3 separate regions of the Homo sapiens genome follow, and all the other regions are linked to region 2. Evidence: promoter capture Hi-C in 16 types of primary human blood cells and fetal thymus (Javierre and others, 2016). All regions are on one chromosome and are shown on one strand. Each heading gives the region's core, a stretch centred on a gene start or on the middle of the fragment in contact. The rest is flanking DNA. Distances are from core to core; before and after follow the strand shown. Region 1 holds the start of OR5M9 (olfactory receptor family 5 subfamily M member 9). Region 2 holds the start of OR8K5 (olfactory receptor family 8 subfamily K member 5). Region 3 holds the start of OR8U3 (olfactory receptor family 8 subfamily U member 3).

Evidence for each region. The method cuts DNA at HindIII sites, captures the fragments that hold promoters and counts their contacts. A CHiCAGO score of 5 or more calls a contact.
Region 1: the fragment with the promoter of OR5M9 here is called in contact with the fragment with the promoter of OR8K5 in region 2 in 5 of 17 cell types (neutrophils, naive B cells, naive CD4 T cells and 2 more); the score reaches 8.4 in neutrophils.
Region 3: the fragment with the promoter of OR8U3 here is called in contact with the fragment with the promoter of OR8K5 in region 2 in 10 of 17 cell types (neutrophils, M2 macrophages, non-activated CD4 T cells and 7 more); the score reaches 15.8 in neutrophils.

What each region holds. Positions count from the first base shown.
Region 1 is chr11:56,462,001-56,464,833 of GRCh38, forward strand. It overlaps OR5M9 (olfactory receptor family 5 subfamily M member 9), which reads right to left and starts at 1,401. Exons shown (of 1, transcript NM_001004743.1): 1 at 469-1,401. The coding sequence starts at 1,401. The coding sequence ends at 469. The HindIII fragment of the contact is 10,097 bases long and covers 1-2,833 here.
Region 2 is chr11:56,158,734-56,161,877 of GRCh38, forward strand. It overlaps OR8K5 (olfactory receptor family 8 subfamily K member 5), which reads right to left and starts at 1,584. Exons shown (of 1, transcript NM_001004058.2): 1 at 661-1,584. The coding sequence starts at 1,584. The coding sequence ends at 661. The HindIII fragment of the contact is 6,274 bases long and covers 1-2,546 here.
Region 3 is chr11:56,416,883-56,419,815 of GRCh38, forward strand. It overlaps OR8U3 (olfactory receptor family 8 subfamily U member 3), which reads right to left and starts at 1,350. Exons shown (of 1, transcript NM_001004744.1): 1 at 376-1,350. The coding sequence starts at 1,350. The coding sequence ends at 376. The HindIII fragment of the contact is 8,358 bases long and covers 1-2,453 here.

The DNA of each region.
Region 1 (2,833 bases), core at 151-2,650, 300 kb after region 2:
CACTTTTTAGGTAAACTGTTCATCAGTATTCTATGGCCATGAAAAAGAAATGAAGTATTTACTTTTTTCTGAGAATTTGTATATTTCACATGAAATCTAGTTTGAGGAATATGTATATGTATAAAGTACTCTGCAAAATAACATCCAACACTAACAAGCATACTTCCAACTTAACATATATGTATGTACACTCATTTGTGAGTTCCTCCAGTGACTAAACTTAGCCCAATTTTAAGCATATTGTGAATGAACATTGTGTCATCTTTCATAATATTGGCGCACATATAGGAGAAAATATGCTTAGTAATTAGAGTCCATACAAGGGGTAAAACATCACCCTGTTACATCAGACCTCTTAGTGTGTGAAAGAGTTACCTTTTGATACTGTTTTCTGAGCTAGGACTTTTACATGTGACCATTTATAACAGGACCCTATTTATAATAGGGACAACAATATCCACTACAGTTTTACTGCCTCACATATGTCTTGGTGATTGCTTTGTTGACTGCTTCTTTTACATCCTTATTTCTCAGACTGTAGATCATGGGATTCAACATAGGAATTACTGTGGTGTAAAACACAGCCACCATTTTGCCCTGCTCTACGGATTCCTCAGTGGGTCTCCTGAGATACATGAAGATGGGGGTCCCATAAAACATAGAAACAGCCGTCAAGTGGGACCCACAGGTGGAGAACGCCTTCCTCCTGCCATCGGCAGAGCGCATGCGTAGCACAGCTACTACAATGAGAGTGTAGGAGATGAGGACCACCGAGAGGGAATATGTGAAGTTAATTCCAGCAATAACAATCATTGTGATTTCTTTGATGTGCACTCTCCCACAGGCAATCTGGATGAGAGGGGGATCTGCACAATAGAAGTGATTGATTTCAAAGTTTCCACAGAAGTATAAGCCATAAGTCCATAGTGTGCATATTAGGCTGACAGAGAATCCATAGACATAAGGCACAGAGATGAGCCGAACACACACAGTCCTAGACATTTTACTGCCATAAAGCAGAGGGTTGCAGCCGGCCATGTACCTGTCAAAGGCCATCACAGCCAGGATATAGACCTCCACGTGGACAACGGCAATGAAAAAGTAGCACTGCACCAAGCATCCCACATAGGAAATGGTTTTTGTCTCTGATAATAAGTTTTCCAGCATTTTGGGGGTAACGTTGGAGGAGAAGCACACGTCCGCAAAAGACAGATGACTCAGGAAAAAGTACATGGGACTCTGAAGCTGAGGACTGATGCTAATCAAAATGATCATACCAATATTTCCCAACAGAGTGATCATGTAAACCGCTAGGAACACCACAAAAAAGAGAACCTGTAGCTCCTGACGACAGGTCAGCCCCAGGAGAGTAAATTCTGTCACATCCGTGAAATTAGGCATTGCCTTAGTATAGGCCAAGTCTGTGTTGCCTATGGAGAAATTGTTTCAAAAGGAAAGTAAATGAATTTGTTTTATTCTTGAAACTGAGTTGCGTTTGTCCTTATTTTAATTCAAATAATTTAAAAACAATGTACACTTTGCAAAAATGTACAATACAGGGTTTAAATATACTATACATAAAATGAACTGAATATATAACATAATAGACATTGCAGTTTTAGTTCTGATCCAACTTTCCTTTGCTATAGATGTCCATGATTGTAGTTTCACTTTTTTGGCTCATTATAAATGTCAAACTAGGTAAAGAGCTGCAGATGCTGTGGTCAGAGATTTTCCTATGTAAAAATTTCTGATCTCTACTGGTTTCCTGTTACTAACAGAATTTGACTTGGGTTAGTGTTACTACTGTATTAAGTATAAAATATATGAAATAAAGCATCAAGGCATCTAAGAAACATAAACTAACACTACATTTTGTTTCAGTCACAGTGTGATGTACTTTTCTTATTTTACACAAAATCATTAGCGCTTTAGCATTTAGGTTGCTGCAAAAGTTATTGTGGGTTTTGCCGTTACTTTCAATGGCAAAAATGCAATTACTTTTGTACCAGCCTAATATTAGTTTGTTTTGTTTACCTTGAAACTCCTTAAACTGTCTTGCTTAGTAGTTACATTTAACAGAAATTTAGAAATAGTTATACATATGATTTCTACATGCCCTGATCTCTAGATCCACTAAACATAGTACAATAATCCAGTATAATTAAAACTCTCTAAGAAATATTTTTCTAGAGGCAACAGTCCCAGCCTTGTAATACTTATAAGAATAGCTGTTATTGAATGTTCAGGAAAACTCTTCTACGCAAATGTCCTGTAAAACAGGTTTTATTTGCATGACCATTTTACAAATGAGGAAGCTAAACACTGAGAGATTAAGAAAGTCTCCCTGGGTCAGAGGTCTACTAATTAGCAGAATTGGGATGCAAACAAAATCATTTTAGTGTTGTGTCTTTAACAATCTTCTATTGCTGCATCTTTGACAGCCTCTTCTACCATTATATTTCTTTTCATTTGAAATTCAGTTTGCTCATCCTCCACAATATGTGGAAGTTATCTCTTTCATAGTTCATCTTTAATGGACTTTTAAGAGCTTTGGTTACCCCAGAGCAGCCTAAACCACTGAGATAGTAAATCACTGCAACTCTCTACTTGTCCAAGTTTATCATCCCAGGATCAGATGATAATGATTTCTGGGAGAAAATTAATTTAATACCTAAATGTGTATCATCTATCAAAATAATCAAGAAGATTGAATTTGTAATCGACAAATAAAACCCAAAATTCATTTCTATTAACACTTCAGGAATTTTTCATGAAGAAAACCAGTGAAGGCATAAATTACTGGACCAATCATGCCAACTGACCCTATATC
Region 2 (3,144 bases), core at 334-2,833:
AAGAAAATGTGATATATATATGACAAAAAGTGGACTCATATAACCAGAATATGATATACATATCACATTTTCTTTATATATACCATATATATATCAAATGATATATATAGATATCACGTTTTCTTTATCTATATATATGTGTGTGTGTGTGTATATATATATATATGTATATATATATATGATGGAATACTACTCACTTATAAAAAGGAACAAAATAATGGCATTCACAGCAACCTGGATGGAGCTGGAGACCTTTATTCTAAGTGAAGTAACTCAGGAATGGAAAACCAAATATCATATGTTCTCACTTATAAGTGGGAGCTAAACTATGAGGATACAAATAGGTAAGAATGACATAATGTATTTTGGGGACACAGGGAAAAGTGTGCAGTGTGGGCGAGGGATAAAAGGCTACACATTGAGTACAGTGTACACTGCTCAGGTGATGAGTGCACCAAAACCTCAGAAATTACCCCAATGAACTTATTCACATAACCAGAAACCTCCTACTTCCCAAAAATTATTGAAATAAAAAACAATTAAAAAAATTTGAAAATTGGAAAATTTATATACACATGAAAAATTATCAAGTGACATTAATCTATATTATATATTTATTATAACAATATTACAAATTGATTATTAAACACAAAGTTGACATCAATTCTCAAAGAGCTTATAGAAGGCATTTTTCACCTCTTCGTTTCTTAAGCTGTAAATCAAAGGGTTAAGCATGGGGATTACTAAAGTGTAAAACACAGAAGCCATTTTATCAGTATCAAAGAAGTGAGTGGAATTGGGCTGCATGTACATGAAGAGTAGAGACCCATAGAACACAACCACCACTGTCAAATGGGAACCACATGTGGAGAAAGCCTTTTTCCTGCCCTCTGCAGAATGCATTTGACATATAGCTAACAAAATCAACATGTAGGACACTAAGACTATCAGAAAGGAGGAGATCAAATTAAATACAGAAAATAGTATGCTCAACAATTCTATTTCCTGTGCATTTGAGCAAAGCATAGGTAGCAAAGGAACATCATCACAGTAAAAATGACTGATGACATTAGAGCCACAGAAGGTCAATGTAAAAATCTTAATAGTGAACATCAGAGCCTGAAATGTGCTGTAGAGATATTGAATGCCCACCAGTACATGACACAGTCGCTGAGACATAATAACATAATAGAGCAGAGGGTTACAAATGGCCACATAGCGGTCATAGGCCATGGCTGACAGGATGAAAAATTCACTGATAATGAACATAAGGAAGAATGCCAGCTGTGCAGCACATGCATAATAGGAAATAGTATTTCGATCCACAACAAAATTTGCCAGCACCTTGGGACAAATGACAGTAGAATTACCAAGATCAACAAAAGCCAAATGTCTGATAGAAAAGTACATAGGTGTATGTAAGTGGGAGTCCAGTTTGGTCAAAATGATCATAGTTAGGTTGCCCACCACTGTGATTAGGTAGATGACGAGGAAGACTCCAAAAAGGGGAATCTGCAGCTCAGGCCGCCTTGTGAGTTCCATCAGAATGAATTCAGTTAGCACTGTTAGATTGTGTTGGCCCATTTAGTCCAGTTATCTCTTCTAGGAAGAAACAGTTGGGTTATTAGCTGTTCCATGTAGTGCTATTTAAACAAATTATAATATTTGTAGACAGAATAGATTGTTATTCACAATAGATAATAGAAACATTATTTCTACATTTGATTCAGAAATGAAATATAAAGCAAAATTTTCTACTTTCCTAAAAGAGGAATTCATGTAAAATACATGCACTGAAACAACATAGATTAAATAGTTTCATCAATATTTGAAGTATATCGGTTAATAACACAGCCATATAGGTATTATTACAAAAAGATTATGCTCTTTTCATCTGCACAATGGTATCATGATTTTCTTTTGTTCACTTCCACTTTTGTTGTAAAACTTTTCTGTAATTTTGATATTCTCAAAGACAGAGGTAGAGATGGCAATAAGATAATGAAGGTTAAGATTTGGGGTCCCTCATTTGCACTTCCAGGGTCTTGTGTGGGGACTTACGAATGCACGCAAAAATGATATATCTTTGTAAAATTTCAAATGTAAGATATAATAATCATGATCAATTAAGGCTGCTTTCTGTTTTCATTCCAACTTCTAGTATATCACACTTCAACTAATATCATAGTGACTTGACATTTCTGCAAGCATTGTGGGATCTAGCTAAAGAAGGATTGAGTTAATAATAGTTTATTTGATGTTCAATGGATATGTTTATATCATTCAGACACTATGATATTTATCACTGAATAATACTACCTATTCTGACTTAAGAATGTCTTCTAAGGATACTCTTGCCACCTGTATGCTGAGATGCATTTGGCATTTGATTAATTAACATACTATATTAATAAATTTTATATAGTTTGTGGCCATGGGTTTGTTTACTAATTACAATTTAAAGCTAATTTTCTATTCTAAATAAATATTCCCATTTATCTTTCAACTTGTATGTGTAATTTTATCTAAAAAGTCAAATTCTTCTAAGCTTCAAGACACATAATCTGGATCCACTTCTGCAAAAACATGATTTAAATCAATATTCAGTGATGACTATTTAATTATATGTACTTTATTTTCTGTAATAAAACACTGTGAAGATGGTAGGTTCTATAAATCATTTAAATAATTTGAGAATTTAGGACATCATATATTAGTGAATGACTTTTTTTCTGGAATTGTACAGTGGAGTATTCATGGAGATATAATACTGTAATTAAAACTATTTCAATGAAAAGTACTTCTCCCTTTATTTAAAAAATACACGGGAAGTCAATAAAAGAAAGTGGAACGTCCCTGATACAGATAGTGAAGATGTCTTAGCCTATTCCACTTAAATTCCCCTCTCCTTCAGTTTCCACTCATTGAAAATCTGGAACTCTGTGAGAGTGACTTTCAATTGGAATAGTAACGGAATTTTCCACAGATCTAATGTAGAATAGATTTATTATAATGTAATGGAATGTCAGCTTTAGCCTGCACATCCCTCAGGTAGAAAACTCTGAAAACCCACCTAAAGATCCAAAACTACAGTTTGGAGCAGGTGCAGTCCACAGCCACACTGTGGCATTTGGCAACACTTCT
Region 3 (2,933 bases), core at 100-2,599, 260 kb after region 2:
TTTCCCAGACTTGGAGACAAAGCCACACAAAATTTAGCTCAATTTTCCAAGGTTGCAGAGCTAATATGAAGGAAATAGTGTTCAAACTCAATCTTGTTTCAGCATCCCAAACTCTAACAAAAACATGCTGCTGCCTTTGCTTTAAATACACCTATGAGTGTTTGCATATATGAGTGTGTCTCTGTTTGTATTTGAACGTGGTTTCAGTGGTCTGCCAAGACTGTGATGGCCTGAATTGAATGCTTTAATTCGTACTGATTTTTCATGATCTGCCTGGTTCTTGCAGAAAATGTCAAGGTCCATTAAAGTAACAGCTACATTTTCAGTTCATTGGGAAATAATTACAAGAAAAAGTTTGATTTATTTCCTGCTTGTTTAATAAAGTTTTCTTATTTTTAAAAATGTTAATATCTGTAAGTTTTCACAACCTTTATCCAAGGCTTTCTTTGAGGCATCTTTCACTTCTTTGTTCCTTAGACTATAGATTAGGGGGTTTAACATGGGGATCACCACTGTGTAAAATACAGAAGCCATCTTGTCTGTGTCCAAGGAGTGATTTGATTTGGGCTGTAGGTACATAAAGATCAGTGTGCCATAGAAAATAGTGACAGTCACCATATGGGAGCCACAGGTGGAAATGGCTTTGTGTTGCCCCTGAGTAGAGCGGATCCTTAGGATAGCGGCAATAATAAAGATGTAGGAGGTGAGGACAATGGAAGAGGAAGAGATCATATCAAAGCCAGCAAAGGCAAATATCAGAATTTCCTTCATGTGTGTGTCTGAGCAGGACAGAGCTAAGAAGGGGAGGTCATCACAATAGAAATGGTTAATTAAGTTTGGGCCACAGTAAGTCAGACGGAAAGTGATAACGGTGTGGAAGAGGGCAACCAGGAAGCTGTATATATATGGAACTGCCACCAGTTGAATGCAGACTCTTCTTGACATCAGTGTTGAATAATGCAGGGGACTACAGATGGCGACATAGCAATCGTAGGCCATGGAGGCTAGAAGGAAACACTCAGTGATCATGAAGGTGAGAAAACAACCCAGTTGGGTTGCACAAGCATGGAAAGGAATGGTGTTGCGTTCCACAACAAAATTCACCATCATCTTCGGTGTAATAGCAGAGGAGTAACAAAGGTCAACAAAGGCCAGGTGGCTGAGGAAATAGTACATAGGTGTGTGGAGTCGAGTATCAATCTTGATTAAAGTAATCAACCCAAGATTGCCCAGCACTGTGACCAGATAGATAACTAAAAACACCCCAAAGCACGGGGCCTGAAGCTCTGGCCGGTTGGTAATTCCTTTCAGAATGAATACAGTGACATAAATGATATTAACTTCAGCCATTTATCCTAACAGGTTTTGTAGATTTTGTCGCAGTTGAAAAATAAAAAAGATACTTCTCATGTTCCCTGTCAGTGTTGGGTAAAGGTGATGATTGTTGTCTTCTTGCCTTGAATCATATCATCATGTGGGCAAAAACATACATCTTACCTCTCTAATGACAGAGGCCAATCTTGCCTGAGGGAGGGGAGTCTTTTACTTGCAGAATAGTAAATAGACCACCTTAAGAAATATTTTGCTTTGTAATTTTAGAAAATAAGAGAAGATGTTGGTTAAAATTATATAGTATGAAACCGCTTGTGACAACTGACACTAATATTTCAATGTTTTTGCTGCCATTAAAAATCTTATATATTTTCCATGCATATATAACAGAACAAAAATATTGAATTTATAGACGTGACCACATTTATATTTCCTTATTTTTCGGTTTTGTGCGTGCTTCCATAAAATATGTCAAAAATAGATCAAAATAATTTTAGAGCTCCTATGAACTATTCAATTTGCTATATTCCTTCCCACATTTATATAGAATAAGTAATTTATGCTGTAGAAATGGAAAGAAATTTGATCAGAAATATGAGAAAGGAAACATTCAGTTGTAAAAAGTTTTATGGAAACATATACTGGTGGGTGGAGTTTTTGATGCATCTTTTAGGATAATTATAATTATTTGTATTTCTACCAGCCCTGAAAAAAAGAGGATTCATCTTGTTAAGCCCAATATTAGCCTATTTAAACTTTAATTTGGTCCTGGCTTTATTTTTCAAAAAATAGAATCATGAAATATTAACTAGAAAATGCTTTGAGAGATCATCATATCTAACCACTTTGTCTTTCATATTCCATTGATTAGTACTATTATTATTTTATCTATTGCAATTGAGTGATGTCCTTATCAGATATTCTGAGTGCATTACATGAATTAAGATAGTCTCTTGCTTACCCTATGAGGAAGGCTCTCACCCATAACTCCTTATAAACATTGGAAAAATCCGACTTTCTGGTGATGGTCACAGAGTATTAGTGTGACTATGTATAACTGACAGCAGAGCCCATATTTCTAATCATCCTTATGCTGCCCAAGTGTAGTGGTTTGTTCCTTAAGCTTTAATCGCCGGGATGGATGGAAGAACGAGGCTAAAGTGTCAAACTAAATGTTTAAAGCTTACAGAAGACAAACATGAAAACTGTAGTTTTCCAAAGATTGCTAAGTTTTCATATACTAGGTCAAAGTAAAATAGAAGACTCCTAAAACATATATATATATATATATATATATATATATATATATATACACACACACACACACACACACACAGATGCATAGACATATACATATATACATATATATTGCTATTCTCAGTAAATAACTGTTTCGTTCATGAATATTCAAAAGTGAGAATTATCTGACTTACATATGGGACTTGAATATGCTCAATTTTTTTTCACAAAGGATTTTATGTCAATTCGAGCTGTGAAGTTATAATTTGAACCCTAATTGAGGATAATTATAAGGCTATCCCACAATGTAAAAGTAAATAGACCACCTTCACTGAAAAATAGTGTCAGGGAAAGAGGTTTAT